Linked DNA regions of Homo sapiens: all the other regions are linked to region 1. The links are contacts of gene promoters, found by promoter capture Hi-C in human tissues and cell types (Jung and others, 2019). All regions are on one chromosome and are shown on one strand. The core of a region is centred on a gene start or on the middle of the fragment in contact, and the rest is flanking DNA. Distances in the headings are between cores, read along the strand shown.

The links. Contacts are between HindIII fragments. The study calls those that stand out against the background at their distance.
Region 2: a contact is called between a fragment that was not itself captured here and the fragment with the promoter of GRID1 in region 1, in 1 of the 25 tissues and cell types used here (dorsolateral prefrontal cortex).
Region 3: a contact is called between a fragment that was not itself captured here and the fragment with the promoter of GRID1 in region 1, in 1 of the 25 tissues and cell types used here (dorsolateral prefrontal cortex).

Annotation. Positions count from the first base shown.
Region 1 is chr10:86,365,373-86,369,460 of GRCh38, forward strand. It overlaps GRID1 (glutamate ionotropic receptor delta type subunit 1), which reads right to left and starts at 1,423. Exons shown (of 16, transcript NM_017551.3): 1 at 942-1,423. The coding sequence starts at 1,020. RefSeq lists silencers at 732-881, 912-1,111, 1,342-1,391, 1,412-1,801, 1,912-2,121. The HindIII fragment of the contact is 18,696 bases long and covers 1-4,088 here.
Region 2 is chr10:86,025,205-86,029,595 of GRCh38, forward strand. All of the region lies in intron 4 of GRID1 (glutamate ionotropic receptor delta type subunit 1), which reads right to left. Among named protein-coding and RNA genes, the nearest start is that of MIR346, 240 kb to the right of the region's middle. The HindIII fragment of the contact is 3,252 bases long and covers 1,173-4,391 here.
Region 3 is chr10:85,945,443-85,949,314 of GRCh38, forward strand. The region is part of intron 4 of GRID1 (glutamate ionotropic receptor delta type subunit 1); the gene reads right to left. Among named protein-coding and RNA genes, the nearest start is that of GRID1-AS2, 300 kb to the left of the region's middle. RefSeq lists an enhancer at 1,421-1,760. The HindIII fragment of the contact is 5,837 bases long and covers 1-3,872 here.

The DNA.
Region 1 (4,088 bases), core at 173-2,672:
GTCAGCCCCCCAACTCGGCCCAACTTCCCGAGATTCCTCCCGTGTTGCTCCCAACTCCCACCCACTCCCCCTCGGCGCGCCCACTCCCCCTCGGCGCGCCCCCTCCTCCTCTGCGCTTTCATCTTCTCTCCCGGTTCTCTCTCTCTATCCATCTCTTCCCGCTCAGCATCCCCCTACCCCCCGCTGCCCACGCTTCTTCCCTCGGCTCCCACCACCCAGACCGTCTGGGCCCCCAAGACTTGGACCACGCAAAACTCTAGGACTGTCCAGGATGGGGATGCAGTCGCCACAACCAGATACACACGCACTCACACATACACCAAGGGCTACACAGACACACACCGGAGAAGCAGGCAGACACTGTGTCCACTCTAACAGGCTGACAGACAGTCGTGCACGCACCAACACACGCTCAGATGGCCCCACACACCCCAACACCCTCTCACAGTAACACCGACACCGTGCCAGGCGCACACAGCGACACACGCTGACAACACGCACCCACACACATTCACACACGGTTCCGGTCCGGCCTCTTTGATCTTGCCCTGCCAACTTGGCGAGCCCCCCGCTGTACCTCCCCCTGCCCCCCGCTGCTCTGAGCTGCGCAGAAGGGCCCTCCCGACCCGCCGACGGCCCCGCTAAGGGCGCGGGTCTCGACGCGCGTCCATCCCGGTGTTCCCCGAAGCGTCGGCCCTAAGTGTCGGTAGAGGCCGCGGGGCCCCGCGCGGAGATCGGAGCCCCGGGGAGCGGCAAGCAGCCAGCGGGAGCGCGGCGCGGCCGGTGCACAGCTCCTCCGCCGGGCGGCGCGGCGCGGCCCTTCGGGGGAGCACCGCCCGCCGAGCCCCTCGGCCCAGGGAAACGCCAAGTTTGGACGCCGCGCACCCCCTGCCCCGTTGGGGCCCCCGCCCAGCCTCGGCCCGGCCTCCAGCCGCGCTTACCGATGTGGATGATGGAGTCGGCCCGCACCGACACGCACTGGCATATCCAGGGGAGAAGCCACAGCGTCAGCGCTTCCATGTCCCCCGGGCGCGCGGCTCATCCACCCGGGCCCGGGGCGAGGCCGAGGGCAGCGCGAAGCGGGGAGGCGCTGGTCCCGGTGCAGTCCCGGGCCGCTCCCCGGGAGAGCCGAGCCCGCCCGTGCGTCTTCCCCCGCGCGCCCGCCCCTGCGCCCTGCGCCCGCCCCAGCCCAGCCCAGCCCAGCCCAGCGCGGTCGGGCTCCCGCTCCGGCTCCGGTGGCGGCTGCGGCGGTGCTGGCAGCTTGAGCCCAGGCCGGCGCGGCGGGGGCGGCCCGCGGCTGTGGCAGCGGCGCTTCCCGCGGCTAGAGCGGCTTCGGGGGAGGCTGAGGCGGTGGCGGCGGCGGCCGGGCCGGCGTGGCGGCTCTGGGCTGGCTGTGTGTCTGAGCCCCGGCGAGGAGCGAACTGCGGAGGACGCCCCCTCCCCTCCCCCTCCCCCTCAGCTCCGCTCCCCCTCCCCTCCCTGCCCGCCTCCCTCCCCTCCGCCCGCCTCTCTACCACGTGACTGCGGAGCCTCAGCCTCGCCGCGCGGCTCTCGCCCGCTCGCGGCTCGGAGGGGGCGCCGGGTGCTCCACGCTCCCGGCTCGGGGGACGCTCGGAGACCGGCACAGCGGCGGGGACCGGCCTGGGCTGCGGCGCGCCGAGCTCTGACGGTTCGGGCCTCCTTCTCCGGTTCGCCAGGGGCGGGAGAATGGAGGAGGGCCGGCCGCTAACTGCCCTCGAGGGGCTCCCGAAGCGCCCTGGCGACCTCAGCAGCCGCGCGTCTCGGGTCATGTCCCCGGCCGAAACAGACCGTTCCTCGTGGAGTGGGACCTGGGGAGCAAGAAGAGAGACCGGGGCGGGGCGCCGGGCCAGGCCCCAGGACAGCTGGGGAGCCAGAGGGGGCCGGCCGCCGCAAGCATCTCAGAGTAGAGCCCGGGCCGTGGGCTCGAACCCTGGCTGGCCGCGCGGACCTCGGCGGGCGCCCATCCCCCGCTCCATGGGCAGCGCGCTCAGCCGGGAGTCGGGCAAGAGGCTCGGACTCTGAAGCCCAATTCATGGCCGGAAACCAGCGCAGCCGTGACCGCGGCGCCTGGACGTGAGGAGCCTTCCAAGCGGCCGGCGGGCTCAGACTCCGACCCTGCACGGAGCTTTCATGTGCGAGCCCGGGCGAAGAGCCCGCTCCTCGCGGCCACAGCGGAACAGGGCTCCCTCCGCCTCCGGTGCCTGCCTCGGGCCGGCCACCACCAAAGAGAGCGTTAAGCTGTTGTGGGCTCGTGCCTGAAAGGGACTGGGCTCCATGTGGCACCCCCAAGATTTCGAGGAGACAGCTGAGCTTCCTGGGGTCTGGGACCTGGCAGAGCCTCGTTCAAAAGCTGCTCCTCCAGCAAGCCTGGGAACGTCCCCGGGCCCTGTTGTCCGCGGAGGGGCCCCAGGACTCCCGCCACGCACCAGGGGGAGAGGCTCCCACCACAGCCCTTGCCCAGAGCTCCCAGCGCAGTGGGCGAGGCAGACACCCAACCAAGTCATCTTTTAAATGTTGGGGGGGGCTATGAATGAGCTGTGTATGCTCAGATGCCTGGGCTCTGAACCAGCCTGGGAAGAAGAGCAGGGATGACTTCCTGGAGGAGATGACAGTTGTAAAGACTGAGTGGAGGTTCCCAAGGGAGAAAATAAGGCTTCCAGGCATTGAATAGTGGTGAGCCAAGGCAAAAAGAAAGAAGTGTGTGTCTGTATGTCTGTCTGTCTCTCATGTGGCCAGAGCCAAAGAGTAAGCATTGGTAGATTTCACTTTGGAAAGAAAGATTGGAGAGGATGGGCTGTGCAGAGGGGGCCAGTGGAGGCCCATAGCACTGTGAGGGAACCCTGGGTGGGCCAGCTCAGCTGGGCAGGGACAGCCTGTTGGAGCGGAGAAGCTGGATTGCAGAAGTATCAAGGAATCCCATGAGCCAGCAAGGTGACTTCTAGGTTAAGGAGGCCAGGGGGCAAGAAGAGAGGAGTGGTCATATGTCATACTTGCCCATGGGAGTGGCTGAATGTGGTCCTACACACACACACACACACACACACACACACACACACACTTCTTCCAAAAACCTGTCTTAGGGTCCTTGAGTAGTGAAACCTGACCCACCCCGCATCTCAAAACCCTCTACACCTCTAATTCTTATTCCTGCAAAATTCTACCATTCACTGGCTGAAATGCTGTAGGGAGAAGAGAAATAAATGATGAGTTTTATTATACATCAGTTTGGTTCCTACGGGGACTGTCTCCACCTTGAAAGGATGGTGGGTGTGGTCTTGACCTGAAGTCCCTGTGGGTCAGGGACTCTCCCCGGGCCTCCTGTTGTTGGGGGTTCTCCAGTGTGTTAGTACAGTGGGCATGTGATATACCCAGTTAGAAGTTTTTCTTTGATGTATGTTTTGCTAGGTGTAGGTAGCATGATTTCAGTGGGATAAGTATTAAGACCTCCTTCCAAGTATTAAGAAGACAACCCACCAACACATAGTTGTGGAATGATTTCCATCAAGTTCCAGTTTGGATGATGAGGTGGGTGATGAGGTTCCTGTGGCTTGGCATCTGAGGATCATGACTCAAGGTGGATCTCATCTGGAAGTTGTTGACCTGGGGCAACCTCACCTTCTGTCCTGGGTGCCTCCTTCCTCTCCAGCTTCCAGGGCGTGTGGTAGTCTGCCATCCCCATATGCTCATTCCCAGATCCTCACCCTGGGACAGTCCACTCAGCCAAGCCAGTTTTCCTATCCAGGCTAGAATCCCCTGGACACTGTAGGCAGCGTGGTGACTGTAGGCACTTGCTCAGCTCCTGTTCCTCACAGAGCTGGAAGGCAGGCCCAGAGACCACTGGGGACCTGTACAGACTCACCTTGAGGCAAAATGTGTTTAATCCTCTGCCACCTAAAGTTGGAGTTGCCAGGTTCCAGGGGCATTGGATGTTATTGGTCAGTTGCTCAGACTCATCAAGCCCTTAACAGTTTATTGCTCCTGGCCCAGCTATTCTTGGCCCAACACCCTTATCCCTGATAGCCTCTGGGGCTGCAAATGCTGCCTCTCCAAACCAGGGGAAGCAACTC
Region 2 (4,391 bases), core at 1,549-4,048, 340 kb before region 1:
CCCCTGGCTGAGCTGCAGACCACGAATAGTAACAGTACCAAGTCTTCCTTTTGGGAGCACTAGGTAATATAATGCATGTAAATGTAGTGGTTATGGTGGTTTGCTCGTTTCTGAAGCATTGTCCTGCTATCAAAACTATGCAGCTCAAGTGCAGAGACCAGGCCTTGAATACGAGTGATTCCAACAAGAGTAACTTGACTCACTTGACTCCTCACTTCCTAGTGATCACAAGCAGCCTTATTAGAATTGGCTTCCCCCTTGTAGCTTTCCTACGATAGTAGTCACAATCAAGGGGTTCCACCAATTGGGAGCACATTCTATGTACCACGTGCTTTCCAAATGCTGTCCTTTCTACCCCAACCACAACCCCAGAACAGGAGCCATTATCTCCTCGGTTTACAAATAAGAAAACAGACTCAGAGAGGGTGGATGTTTCCTTCAGGTGTCATACATATAGTAAGTGGCAGGGCTGAACTTTGAACCTGGAGCAGAACCTGATATCTGTGCCCTGCACTGTGTATACAAGCGGATATCATGCAGCTCAGCCAGTGTGAGACTTCAGCCTGGACAGTGGGGCTTCTCCCTGTGAATAGATAATCAACCCAGTTTTGGGACCTGGAATAATGCCTCTGGCCCAATCACTCCCCTAGAACTCCAGTAAAATTGAATTTTGAGCCTGCAAAATTGAAAAACACACCTCTGTTCTGAGGAACCTGCCTCTAAGCTCTGTGCCTCAGGGTATAGTCCTTCTGTGCCCTGGGGCAGGGGAGCAGCCACTTTCCAAGGCCACACCACCCTCTGGCTTGTTCCTACAGCAAGACCTTCACTGGCACTGCCCTCAAGGCCCAAGGGGGTGTTGCTAACATGCACAACACAAACCCATCCAATCCCAGAGTTTTGATGATAATTCGCTCCAACTAACATATGTGCAACATCTATATTATTGCATAATTTATATACGTTTCACACTATTTGTTTGGGATATAAGCGCCACACCACAAACTATTTGCATATAGATGGAGAGTTATAAACATATGCTTGTATTTGATGAGTAATATCTGAAACACACACGCATACATATTGCTCTTACAAGCGCAGAAATGCTTGCTTTCTGCCACAACTTCAAGTGCACAGTGATCCTTTAACAGTTTGTTAATTTTCAAAATTTACAATACTGAATTGTCCATTTCTGAACATATAAATGATTTTCAACTGCTTGATGAGCTGTGGCTGTCAAGTTTCAGAGGAACGGAGGATGAGGGTTTCAAGCAGCTTTACTTCAGAGAAGCTAGGACTCAGGCTCGCTTTTGTTGAAATCTCCACTGGTGCTGGCTGTCAAAGAGAAAGCCATTCCTTCGATACAGTTTGCCATCTACAACCAAGTCAACTATGTCAGTGACAAAAACCTAATATGTACTTAACAAACACACACTCAGCTTCTACTCTTTGCCAGACACTGTACTCAGCATAGGGGACCCAGAACTGAACCTAACTGGTGAGAAGCAACCCAGACCTACCCTGGAGCCAGCACATAGTAAATGCTCAATAAACAACAGTGGCTATGCTGGATGACCAGAGACTGGTGCTTATGGTGGCAGGTCCAGCCCTCATGTGGAGACGTGTGGGGTGTGAATCCCAGTTCAGCACATGCTGGCCTGGGACTGGAGAAAATGCATGACATGCTCTCAGCCTCTGTTCCTGGCCTGTAAAGTAGGAGAGCACCACTCTCACAGCTGCGTGGAGACAAAGAAACAACCTGTCTAAAGCATGCTGGGCTAAGTCTGGCTCACAGTGGGGCCATGGGAGGCAGGACAAAGAGCTCCACTCAGAAGGAGCAGCCTGTCTTGAGGGTCTCCTGGAGTAAAATCCCAGACTTCTCTATCTGATTATTTTCTAATTGTGGGAAAATATACATGACATAAAATCCACAATTTTAATCATTTAAAGTATAAGATGCCACAGCATTTAATACATCAACTGTGTCTAGTTCTGGAATATTTTTATCACCCCCAAAGGACAATCTTATATCCATTAGCAGTCACTCTCCATTTTTCTTTCTCCGCAGCCCCTGCAACCACTCATTGCTCTCTGTCTCCATGGATTTGCCTGTTCTGGACATTTCATATTAATGCAGTCATGGGATAGTAGTCCTTTTTTGCCTGGTTTCTTTCACTTAGAATAATGTGTTCAAGTTTTATCCAAGCTGTAACATGTGTCAGAACTGCATTCCTTCTCACGGCTAAATACTATTTCATTGTATGGATATGCCACATTCTATTTATCCATTGAGCAGTTGACAAATATTTGAATTGCTTCCATTTTTTGGCTGTTGTGAACAGTGCTGCTATGAAACCCTTATCTGATTTTAGTGGCTGAGACAGCTTTAGTTCCAGTTTTTCAGGTGTTATATTCCTGAACTCAGATCATCATATCCTGCTTAGGGAGTCTGCAGCTGCTTCTCCCAAGGTCCATTTGAGACCAAGTTTCCTTCAGGAAAAGCCACAGCTGACGGCTTCCAGTCACATACATTGTTTGCCTTTGTTTTGCCTACACATCAGACATCTTGTTTCCTCAGCTCAGGTTTCCTAATTGATTTATTGGCATAAAATCAACACTCACATTATCACAACAGTCATTACAGAAACTGCTCATCATTAACCTGTACCTATTACCATCATGAATTTCTCATTGGCTGTATATAGACAAGAGAATAAACATTGATGAACACTGGGTTTGTACCAGGCTGTGTGCTGGCTCCTTTATGTACATCATCTGACTAATCCTTCTAACCACTCCTGGAGGTAAGAGTTAATACCCCGTGATGTATGGATGAGAAAATTCGGCTCAAAGATGTGAGGGGACTCTTCTCAAATTACACATCTCACAAGACGCTGAGATGCCATTCACCCACCAGGTGTGTGTGGCTCTAAAGCTGCCTCCTGCATCTCCACCCAATACTTCCTTGACAAATAATTATGAGCAAGGAGCCACCCTAGCCTGCTCCCACTGCATATGTGTGCTGCCCCACCAAACTGTGCACTACAGCAGCTGTGCAAGTAATCAAAGCTTCCATCTTTGTATGCTGTTTGGGGGCAACTCTACCCCTTTCATTCTGGGAAGGTTATGGAATTTTATATACTCATCAAGGCTATGGAATTAAGGTCCCAGGCCATGGGATTAGAAGCCAGGGTCACTGGTATGGACCGATTTACTGTCTGACTTCAGGTGAGTCAGTCCACCGAAGTGAACTGGCCCTGGTCTTCCTACAACAAAACAGGTATCTGTTATCTGCCCTGGAATGCTCTAGAAATGATGAGAACTATCTTTAGATATTGGAATCTTTAAATATTCATGTGCAGATTCACATGGAATAGCTGGGCTCAAACCTAGAGAAGGGGGGAGCATGTGATGCTCAGTCTTTACCAGAGATGACTTGCTCAGGACAGCCAGGGCTCCCCTCAGCATACCTCTTAGCCAGTGCCCAGGGCACTGGAGTATCCACCCTTCTCTCTGAAAAGCCACCTGGTAGGAGGGACTCTGGGAAAGGGCCATTTTCATCTCAAATGACAGGTTTGTAACTAAATAAAAATTGTGTCATCATGAGCAAAATATTTATACTTAAAAAAAAAGTCCCAGCTCTTCTAGTAGACTTCCAAATTGTAAAATCTAAAGGTAAGAAATGTCCCATGAATTCTGAAGGATGGGAGGCAAGAAAGCTGATTGCTTTATGCTCCCCACTTAGCCCTTACAGCAACCCTTCTGATGCCAGTCCCCAGATCCCTTCTCCTCCCTTAAGCATCCCTCTAATGCTATACTATGGCTATCCACAGTGTCTGTGTGCTGGTGAGTCCCCAGGTGTACCTGCAGCTCCAGCCTCTCCTCTCATCTCCAGCATAGTAGATCCAGCTGCCTCCTTCAAGCTTCTAATTGGATTTCTCAAATTTAACATTTCCAAAAACACACTGGTTTCCACTTCCCCCCAAAACCCACTCCTCTGTCCTCCTTGTCATTGTAGCAAATGGTCTCACCATTCTTATAACTCAGGCCAAAAGTGATGGCACTGTCCTTGACTCTTCTCTGAAGACTCACATCCAAGCTCTAAGAAGATTCTGTCAATCTGCCTTCAAAATACATCCAAAATCTAGGAGAGGATCACCCAACTCACAGGTATTTGAGAATATGAACCCATGTCTGAGCTCACCTTTAAGAGGTCTTATCTGAGATTCCTTGTGGAACAGAGTTCCATCAAAGCCAATCCAAAAGGCCTAATAATCATTCTTGTACTTTATGCAAATAATCACGCCAAGTATAAGACTAAAGTTTATTCTATGAACAACATGTCCCATCATAATTTGTTTTTACCAAAAATGAGGACTGGAGAGAGAAATTAT
Region 3 (3,872 bases), core at 543-3,042, 420 kb before region 1:
GGGTACTGTACTGTAGCTGAAAGTGGTATCTGTCAGATTTCCATATGTCCAAACTGAAGAAGTTCTTTGGGGTATTGCTTCCTCAATCTTAGCAAACAGAATTTGTCAAAAAGTTGACTAATACATTTCCATCTTCCCAGATACTTCAAACACACTAAAATTTCATGTTTTTAGAAAGTCATTTCAAAGCACATTGAAACCCTTCACTCTGAAAAGTTCCTACACATGGGCTAGAAAATTCTGTTTCCCAGGTTTTTAGGATGATAAAATTTTCATAGTTTTCATAAGCACTTTCAAAACATCCTGAGATACTTCACTGTGGAAGTTTTTTATATACGGATTAGAAAATTCTGTTTCCAAGGTTTGTTTTCTAGTAAGCAGATATAAGGGCTTTAAATTATTATTTATGAGTGACACATATGGTTTTCAGCAACAACAATTAAAAATACTGGAAATATTTCCGACCATTCATTTTCAAAATGCTCTCTTGAACCAAGAATTTACTTCAAAAAGCAATTACTTTCTTATGAATTGTTAAAACATTGAAGGGACAGATAAAATATGTTTAATTTTTAGAAGAGTATCTGCCAGGTAGCATTCAATTGACATTATCTCATTATTACAAATAGGGTCAGCAATCCTCAAAGTTTGTTTTTTAATGAGAGAAAAATGTCTTAGCATCAAGTCCCAGACTTTTAAGCACTTTGCCAAAAGATCACCAGTGAAGCTCTGGGTAGTACAAAAGATTTCAAAATTTTCTCCCCATTTCATTACAAGGTACTATAAAGAGTCTGCCATTGAAAGGTCTTGTGTTTTAAAAAGTAATCAGCTAATGGTATCTCATGGCAGATTAAATAGGTTGTGCTCAATGCCCTGAGAAGACAAGCAGCCAGGTAAGGTCACTGCTCTGAACCCTGCTCAGTGTCCACTCCATTCGACCCAAGTGTCAACTCGTGTTAAATATTAGGAAGCTTCACTCCTTTGCTTTTTGACTTAAAAATTAGAAACAGAAGTTCTAATAATTTTCTTTGACACACCAAGGAATCAATTGTGTAACCCACTTTGGAAATCACTGCTCTAAATAATTTATTCGGGAAAATACTTTTGATGCCATGAAGAGAGAAAAATGCTCAGGCAAAAAGAGATGACATGAGAGACTTGAGTAACAGAGTCCAGTGGGGGCTTGGAAAGGGATGCTGTCCCTGCTCCCAGGGCCAAGGCCAGCCCCGGGGATTGCGGGGGGAAGAATCCCCAGGTCAGTCTTGGGCGGCTCTGAGAAATTGTCTTCAGTTTCATTTTGCACTGTGATGCCAACAAGCCCAGTGTTCTCAAGCATCCAGGAAGGTAGACATAAGGGGCCTCCCAGAACCCCACCCACACTCCCCAGTGTGGCCTGTGGAGCTGCCTGGTGACCTGAGAGTCAGGGACAGGCCAATAGTAGGTGAATATGAGAAGCACACAGTCATAAGCTCCAATGGCTCACAATGCGGAAATGTGGATGACTTGGCAAACACAGCAAGAGAGACAACAGCAAGTCCAGAAGGAACAGTGTATGGCTCAGAAGAGGCGCGACAGTGATGACAATGAACCAGGGCAGTCCCCACCAGCACTGTCCACCCGCACCATTATTCTCACTGCCAAATCAGAGAGGCTCCTCCAGGAGAAGGGGACAGGGGAAACACAGCATGGCCGTGGCTGCATTCTCTGCCCCCACACAGAAGGGGAAGTGCAAAATGAAAATTAAGTTCCGCTGCAGTCAAAAAAGGCTGTGTTGTTTCCACTTCTGAATTTGTGGTTTGAGGTAAGTACCCACCACATGCATTGGTACCTTGTTACCCACACAGAGCTGTGCAAGGATACACTCCAAGCTGTGAACACGGAGCCTGGGACTGGAGGTGGTGTGGGGTGGGGAGAATACTGCTTTACACATCTTTGAACTGTTTTTCTTATTATAATGGCCATGGATAACTTTCGTATCTCAGATAAAATATAATTTAAAAATATGTATGTAGAGCACGTATGAGCAAGGCAGCCAGTTTTGGGAATGAAGCTATGGCTACAGATTCCCCTAGAAGACCCAGTCATTGTCCCAGGGGCACTGTGGTCACCACAGACCCACAAGTGCACGTCCATGGAGAGTGTCGTGACTCTGCAGGATGCTGTGCCAGAGAAAGGCACACAAGAAGCAGCACCTGATGCTTCAGTCAACTTCACAGAATTTTCTAAAAAATGCTTCGTAAAGAAGACCACCAAATCTGCTGAGAAGAGAGGATGCTGAAGAAGTGGCAAAAGCATAAAGCCACGCTATGAAAGCCTTATTTCCTTCTGAAGGGGAAAGAAAGAGGGTCAGACGTCCCAATACACTCAATAGCCTCCTTCGACCTTGTTCTTATTTTGTTCGGTCTATCCCCAGAAATCAAAGGAGAGCATCTTGGATATGTTGCAAAAGAATTAGGAGAATGTTGAATAACACTGCAGGTGATAAGCAACCTTACAATAAGCCTACCAAGCTGAGGAAATTTTTGAAAATGGTATTGCTTTGCCAGGTTAAAGCCTACCATAGGAGAAAAAGAAGTTGTCCTAAAAGCAATGTGGTATCTTAGACTAGAACTGAGAGCAGAAAAGGGACATTAGTAGAAAAACTAGTGAAATTCAAATAAAGTCTTGGGTTTAAATAGTAATGTACCATTGTCAGTGTCTTCGTTTTGACAAATGTACCATGGCAATGTAGGATTTGATTAGATGAGATAATCAACATCAAGGGAAACTGAGTAAGGGGATAGATAAGAACTCTCTGTCCATTGTTTAATCATCTAAAATTATTCCAAGTGAAAAGTTTATTTTTAAAAAACAGAGATACTTGCCAAGGATAAAACATCTAGTCCAAGGAAGAGGAAGATGAGGATGAAGTGGTTGAGGATGGAGTTGAGGAATTAGGTAGTCCTTTTGGGAAGCTGCATTGTCACCTGGAGTGACAATTTCCCAACTTAGAAGATGTTCTCTTCTCTGAAGGAATTAACTGCCCTACACACATCTCACTTGGTTTTTTAAAAATTGAAATAATAAGGATGTGTAGATAATTTTTGTGTAGTAAGCCTAGTATTAAGATTAAAACATTATGAACCTATCTTTTAGAGGTATTTGCAATAGACACTGACTTTGTATCTTACAGTATGGGGCTGTAAATTGACACAGAAATTTAAAGCAGGTCACATATAACACAAACTATATTTGGAGTAGTAGTTTTGTTTTTGATGCAACTTGTATTAACTCTTCTATGAACTTAATACCAGCTTATAATTGCAAGAAAAAAGATCCTGTTTTTTTGACATTCTGAATGCTTCTAAGTATATACAGTATTTTCAAATTTTAATAAAAACATGTGCTTTAAGGAAAAAATAAATATATGTAAACTGCTTCCAAAAATCTTGACCATTCTGAAAGGTAATACGATATTTCATTGTTGTCTGAATTGATGTTTTTATTATTAAGTATTAACTTTATAATCAGGAACATGAACAGAAAAATACACTTTAAGCCCACACAGGAATACACAAACTGGAGAGGAGAGAAACCGTCTGGACATGATGCTTAAATTTGGGTGGAGAGGACAAAGGAAGCACTTTCTATGGGAACAGAAGACGTGCTTCTCCCAGGAGGGTACTCTGACAGGTGTGGGGTGCGGGAGGGGAAGGGCAGCAGATAGCCTTTTGTACCAGGGTGTTGTATTGGTTTTTACATTTTTATAACAACAATAACTGTTATTAAAATAATAATAATTGCAAAATTTTCAAAAAAGTTTTAGTTGAAAATTCCTTTTTATTCCCCAATCTCATTTCCCAGAAGTAACCACTGGTAACTGCATATTTTTG